2 separate regions of the Homo sapiens genome follow, and region 2 is linked to region 1. Evidence: promoter capture Hi-C in 16 types of primary human blood cells and fetal thymus (Javierre and others, 2016). All regions are on one chromosome and are shown on one strand. The core of a region is centred on a gene start or on the middle of the fragment in contact, and the rest is flanking DNA. Distances in the headings are between cores, read along the strand shown.

Evidence for each region. Contacts are between HindIII fragments. The CHiCAGO score rates a contact against its expected background, and 5 or more counts as called.
Region 2: a contact is called between a fragment that was not itself captured here and the fragment with the promoter of KIN in region 1, in 1 of 17 cell types (endothelial precursors). The highest score is 6.2, in endothelial precursors.

Annotation. Positions count from the first base shown.
Region 1 is chr10:7,786,595-7,790,078 of GRCh38, forward strand. KIN (Kin17 DNA and RNA binding protein) reads right to left here and starts at 1,399. Exons shown (of 13, transcript NM_012311.4): 1 at 1,226-1,399. The coding sequence starts at 1,339. ATP5F1C (ATP synthase F1 subunit gamma) reads left to right here and starts at 1,583. Exons shown (of 10, transcript NM_001001973.3): 1 at 1,583-1,669. The coding sequence starts at 1,614. RefSeq lists enhancers at 1,352-1,671, 2,124-2,667. The HindIII fragment of the contact is 3,793 bases long and covers 1-2,565 here.
Region 2 is chr10:9,195,394-9,198,822 of GRCh38, forward strand. LOC101928272 (a long non-coding RNA gene) reads right to left here. Exons shown (of 5, transcript NR_120635.1): 5 at 1,973-3,429. Among named protein-coding and RNA genes, the nearest start is that of LINC00709, 79 kb to the right of the region's middle. The HindIII fragment of the contact is 1,213 bases long and covers 1,108-2,320 here.

The DNA of each region.
Region 1 (3,484 bases), core at 149-2,648:
ATCTCAAAAAAAAAAAGAGGAAGAGAAGTTTCTATTAGAGCTTGCTCTATCTGCTTTGTGAGGATAGAGGCAGTTTCGCAAACCAAGAAGAGGACCCTCACTAGAATCTGACCATGCCAGCACCTTGATCTTGAACTTCCCAGCCTCCAGAACTGTGAGAAATAAATTTCTGTCATTTAAACCACCCAGTCTACTGCACTTTATATGGCAGTCCAAGCAGACTAAGACATTAGATAATGCATATACAGGTATTCCTTAATAGAACTAAAGAGAGTAACTGTATCAATATTAGTATGAGTCCTACCTAAAATACCTCTTCCTTCACTTGCAGAAACACTGGATTAGATTATTCCAATTGCCTCAGTGTTCTTCCACCCTTACCCAATCCAGTCCAATCTCCGGAGAAAAATATGATCACATCACTAGCCTGCACAGCATTCAATCAACCACCTCTTTAATGGGGAAAAGTGTAAATTCCATAGTGTAGCCATATAAGGCTTTTCGAGATCTGCCCAGACTCCTTGAGCCACTCTATATATACTTCACTCATTTAAAACTCAGCGACAATCCTACAAGTAGGTGAAATTATTATTCCCTCTTTACAGATAAGTAAAGGGGAATATAAGTAAATAACTTGCCCAAGACCACACGGTTGGTAAGTGGCCCTGCTTGACTTTAAATTTTGACAGTCTGATATATCCATAAACCAGATAAATCCATAATTTTAACCACAATATTATTCTGTGCCCGGTACAGTGTAGGTGCTCAATAAATGCTTGCTAGATGAGTAGTGTGGAAGAGCTTAGCTCTCCTTTTTCACCTGATCCCAAAAGAGGAGTGAATCCTAACCACCCTGTTTCTCTTAAGAGTCAAGTCAAGTAAGAGCTGATGACTGTTACTGGCATTGCCCGGGCGTCTAGTATTGCAGTATCCCCGCCCCTGTGAGGGGTGCAAAACCTTTTCTGATTTCATTTCTTTGGTGGTGGGGATCGGACTGGGGAGGAATGAGGGGTCGCAGAACACAGGCTGCCCGCTGGGCCCGGGGGCTGCGGGGAGGGACGGCTCTCGTGCGCTGAGTAGTTGACTCGCCCACTGCAGACCTCAGAAGCCTCACGACCCGGACCCCGGGAGCCCCAGCCCCGCGCCCTCAGCCCCGCGTCCAGGACCTGATCCTGGATTGCCAGGGGCCCTCCTGGGAAGACGGGGCCACTCCGGGCCCACTCACCTCGTCCCGGCACTGCTTCTGGCACATCTGGCAATACCAGCGTAGCTTCTGCAGCCCCTTGGACTTGATCCTGTTGGCGATAGCCTTGGGAGTAAGAAAATCCGACTTCCCCATGGCGACCACGGCAGCGATCACTTTCTGGACCCCAGTACTCAGCCAGCCGGAAACGGAACCGGGCTGGCGGCGGTGGGCGGGACAAATCCCAGCTGAGAGGCGGAAGGAGGTGGGGCCTGGGAAGACTGGGTTGCAACGGTCGCGAGACTCCCCTCGCCGTAGCGCGAAGAAACGAGACTGAAGAAGAGAGCAAGGTGGGAGGGGCGCGCTGGGGAGCTTCGGCGCATGCGCGCTGAGGCCTGCCTGACCGACCTTCAGCAGGGCTGTGGCTACCATGTTCTCTCGCGCGGGTGTCGCTGGGCTGTCGGCCTGGACCTTGCAGCCGCAATGGTATGGCAGCTTGCGGGAAGATCGGCAGGACCGCAAGGGATGGAAGAGCTTGGGCACGGGGCAGGGAGGAGGAGATGGGCGCGGGGGCAGATGTGGGGTCGCAGGGCCTAGCTGGGCCCCTGGCCCGTCGGAGGCGCCGGGTAGCGGGGGCTGCAGGAAGCGGCTCTGAGGTCGGGCAAGGTGTGCGCAGGGCCGGGCTCCGGCGGAGCAAGGTCCCGCCCGGTTCCCTGAGGTCGGAGGGCCACCTGGGACCTCGGGACTGCGGCCTGAGTCCAAATTGACGTCTGGGCGGTCTTGAGTTCCCTCAGCTAATCAGCACTTCCTGAGCTTCCACTTCCACTGCAAGCCAGGCCCCCAGTCTCAGGGCCTGCAAGGTGACGGGAGCCTGAGCAATAGCCCAGGGGAAGGTTAAGTCGTGCTTTTTGTCCTTGACGCCCTTTGAAACCCTGTAGTGCTGGACAGAGTGACCCTTTAAGATTCGATCGAGTCAGAGAGCGCGGCCGTCGAGCACCTCCCGTGTTGCAGACGCTTTGCTGGGTGCTGCAACAGCAAAGGCGAACATCCTAGATGCCTCTGAGGGTGGTTTTGGTGCAGAAGGGACCGTACAGATCTGTCTGAGGGCGGGGAAGGGAAGGACACCTAGCACTACCTTGAAACCACTTGCTGAAACCGTAACCCTGCAAGGTCATGAAATTGCCCCCAGGTCCTGGGGGAGGAGTTCGGTGGGCTTTTAAGTGGCATTTGTTAACTGACATGCAACTAAAGGGTGCCACGAGCCTCGAGAATTTTAAACATTAGTTCCGGGTAGGGGGACCTGGGCTGGGGGAAGTGCATATTAGAAGGCCCGGGAATGGGCAGGTAAAAGTTGGTTTGTGGGTGGTGCTGTTCAGTTTTGAAGCTTGACGGAATCTGGAAGAATTCCAGACACGCTGCTAAGGGGATTCTAGGCTGTGTCGTAGCAATTCCCTGCTCTTAACAGTGTGGAGGATTTCTAAGGCGCTACAGTGCTAAACTAGATTTTCGTATCCTAATTTATATGAAGGGACCATAAAGCATTAGTTGAAATAAATAGGTTTTTCATTAAGCAAATAACTGATAGTAATATACGAGATTTTCAGAATGATATCTGATGTGAATTAGCCACATAAAATTTTTGGTGGCTTGGCCTTGGAAGTCAGATTTTTTTTTCTCTAATATGGAAAAAGAACATTCATGGGAATTAAAAGGTCACTGTAGTTGAATTCTCAGTTGTATAGATTGTCCCACTTGTTAACCACTCAGCAGACATTAGCTGAGTGCTTCCACTCCACCCGGTGGTACTTGGAAAGTGCCCAAATGTGATGGTGAGCAAATAGATAAGGTCTCAGTCAGTTTCCTGGGACAGTGCCTGGCATGCAGTGGTGCTCTGCGAACATCAGCTCTCCTGGCCTTACCTTCTTGCCACGCATTAATGTTATCTGTCAGTATTTTTACAACCTTAGTTTCTAAGTTGATCTTTAAAAAAGTGGAAATAGTTTCTGAAACAAAGACAATATTTTACAAAAAATTTTAGAAATATCTTTTTTTAAAGCACCTGTAAGATAATTTGAAGCTCTTTTAGTGAAGGATTGTTTTAAATAAGAGCTCTCAGTTCAAGACAACTACTGTTAGGAGCTTAAATCGGAACCACAATCAGCATATAAAGGTCCTAATCCTGACCTTAATCCCTTTGGAATATTGGTTTTATAAATCATCAATCAACAGTGTTCCACTATGAAAGCATATTCTGTCTTCTTCTTTTCATGTATTCCTTCACTGCTGGTGCTTAATGTCTTT
Region 2 (3,429 bases), core at 464-2,963, 1.4 Mb after region 1:
TTTTTCCTCAACACTTCAAAAATGTTAAGATTCTATATTTTTATTGAGAAATATCCATTTATCTTTAGAACAGGAATGCATCCAGATAAAGAGAGCATCATATTTGCTGAGAGCATTCACAGCATCTCTCTTTTTGATCTTTTAAACAAGCCTTGGCTTTACCTTTTCATCTTTCCTCGAGAGACCTATTTCATCATTACAATATCAAAAGATCCATCTTAAGTACCATAAAACTGTGGTTCTGAGTATATGGATTTATTCACATATGAAATATACTTGCTTGTGGTTTTCAAAGATGTGATGGCCAATGTTTCTAGAGATTTTGGTATGCAATTTTCCAGTAATAAAATGTCATAATGTTCTCTTCACAGATGCCAATTACACGTTTATTATTATCTTCCCTCTGCTGTGCTTTATACTCATTACCATAGTATCTATTAAGTTTGGACATTTCCTGACTTTTCTTTTTTAAAGCTACTCGTCTTCCACAATGTAAATTGGGCCTCCCACCAACCCCCATTGCCAGAAAGCTGAACAAAGTGAATCCCTTATTTCTATATGAGTCAGGTGTACATCTTTATGTTAGAACAGTGATCTGTAAAAGCTTAAACTAATTTATCTACTTCTGCTAATTATTTTGGGATAACAAAAACGTGCTAGCACATAAACGATACTTTCATCTTGGTTCGTTCTGCTCTTCCTTATAGAAATTATTAAAACTTAACTCTAAGGCTTAGTACAAATTAAAGTTAATTTTTCCATGCAAAGTTTTAATATGACCTTATTCCTGAAATTTTTGACCTGAACTAATAAAATTTTTTAAATAATTATACTCAGAGTTTTTATATGCTACTTTTTATTTCTTCAACATTACCATTATGAATTTTGCCTTAGAATACACATTCCTTCAGGAATTTAGATGCACAGGGATGCATGTGGATAATGCCATGAGCACCCTCTGGGCAGCAGTTCATAGAGCGGAGGAAAACAGATCAATCATTATTGAGTCTACAGAGCTTCCACATTAGTACAGCCAATTCATTAGATATGATCCCAACCATTAAATTTATTAGATATGATCCCAACCATTAAAAAGACAAATTTATAAGCTTCTTATATTGAGAATCAAGAAAAAAAAACAAAAAGAAAGCATTCCACTGCACAGTTACACAGTGCATGATTCAATTTCAAAATTCTAAAATGAGTGATCTATATGAAGAGGGTATTTGATTGTGTTGTTACTTACTGTTCATTTATTAGTTTTCTGGCTTCGTGGAGAATTATCTGCCTTCTCTGAGTATTGATTTCATTGTGCGCATGGTGAAGATATCGCCTGTTCTACAAGGGAGTAAGATTGAGTGAGATCCTCTAGGAGGAGGCTCCTAAAATATTTTACCCCTGCTAAGCCATGTGATTCATGTTGAAAGATTTTAAGGAGAAGCTCCTGCTTGATTGATAGGTATAACAATTTCTCTTTCTTTGCTATTAAACTTCTACATTACACAAATTTACACATGAGAGTGTTTAATTCCTAGGCTGGAATTTTGCATTTTCTGTAATTTTTGTGTTAACCAGAGGATTTTGAGACCTGTGGCAGAGGCATTCTCTGCCTCAGGAGAAAGGTGGACATAGACTCAAATAAAATAAGTCAATTGAATCTCTAAATAAGTTTTAAAATATGTACTAGGGATACTAACCTGAAATCCAAGATGCTTTCAATTTGCGAACACCACATATTTGACAGAAAAAAAATTGTGAACTTCTAAATTGTTTGCTTGAAGATAGCCTTGGTTTGTATGGGCTGCTGTCACAAAATATCAAAAAATATCACCGTCTGGGTGACTTGAACTACTAATATTTATTTCTCACAGTTCTGGAGGCTGGGAAATTCAAGAACAAGGTGCTGGCTGATTCAGTTCTTGGTGGGAGCTTGCTTCCTGGCTTGTAGACTTCATCTTTTTTTTTTTTTTTTATGTGTCTCTCATGGCAGAGTAAAATTTCTCTTCAGTCTGTTCTAATAAGGGCATTAATCCCATCATGAGGATTCTACCTTCATGACCTAATTACCTCCCAAATGCCTTGCCTTCTAATGCCAGCACATTAGTGTTTCAATAAATGAATTTGAGGGGAATATAATTCAGTTCACACTGAATACCAAGAGTTAAACCTGGTAGGTTTGGGGCATAGCTTATTACATAAATCAATAATTAGGAAATGGTAGTAACAATTAATAGTAACCTTTTTATGTGAAATGTTATTGTCATTTTATAGCTAAAACTTGCATAGTACTGTATATACTATTTGCTAAGTACTTTATTAAAGCTTTACATATATTAACTTATTTAATCTCACTACAATCTATGAAGTGAGGGCCACTGTCTCCCCATATTACAGCAAGAAGAGTTCAGTAAATTTGCCTGAGATCATAGAGCCTTTTAGAAAAAGATTGAAAAGCCAGTGATCTGATACTACAGTCTTAATTACTACATTTGACTGTTACAACAGTGTTTCTGGCTCTAAAATGACACAGAATTACACTAAGAGTGAAGAAACAAGGACTAAAGGCTTAAACAACTCCCTGAAAAGGGCTCTAGACTTCCAGATCAAATTCCATGGTGGCACGGAGCCTGTGGCACATGAGGAGCATTATGGACACATTGGAGGGCTGAGGAGAGACCCCAGGTTTTCCCCCTCCAGTGCCTCAAGAAATTGCCCTGACCTATTCCACCGGTGTATATCACCTGTGTGGTTGACTTGGGCTACAAGAGTAGCCTAAGGGATGAGGTATAACGGGGAGAACATGGCATGCAGAAAATTGATTAGCAAAGCAGGGAATGAGCTATGCTTCTACTGAAGCCATTATGGAACCCTCTCCAAGACTTTGCGTTTTAGGGCATTGACATGGTGTGTTGTCAGTGCACGTTCCTATTACTGTTTTATTTTCCATATCTCAGCAATAGGAAAAATGAGCACAGTGCTCAAGAGGACTGTGTAACAGGTATCAAAATGAAACCCTCTAGGTGGCAAAATTCACACCATTCATTATTCCTAATCCTTCTGCTATGCTTAGAAGGGAGAAGGGGACCTAGACTGTGTTCTCGTGCATGTTGGATTACATTACCTCAAACCTGGATGCAAACTGCTACTTATAAAATGTTAGTGCTTGCTTGCCAATGTCCGATATTTCAAAGCTTGTAAATGTGCTGAATGCAGAATACAGCTAACTAATTCAAATCAGAACATTTTCTCAGAAAAGTTTCACAGTTTCTTGGGATTCTGCATTGTGTTTGAGCATACACTGAAAAGTGGGGACTAAGAAAAAATTGTCTTGTGGAAATCATAGATGGGTTATTTCTATGGATGTGTGAAATGCCAAGGAGTCATGCCGTTGGAACCTCTCGCTTCCTCCTCCAGCTGCATCAGCAGCCC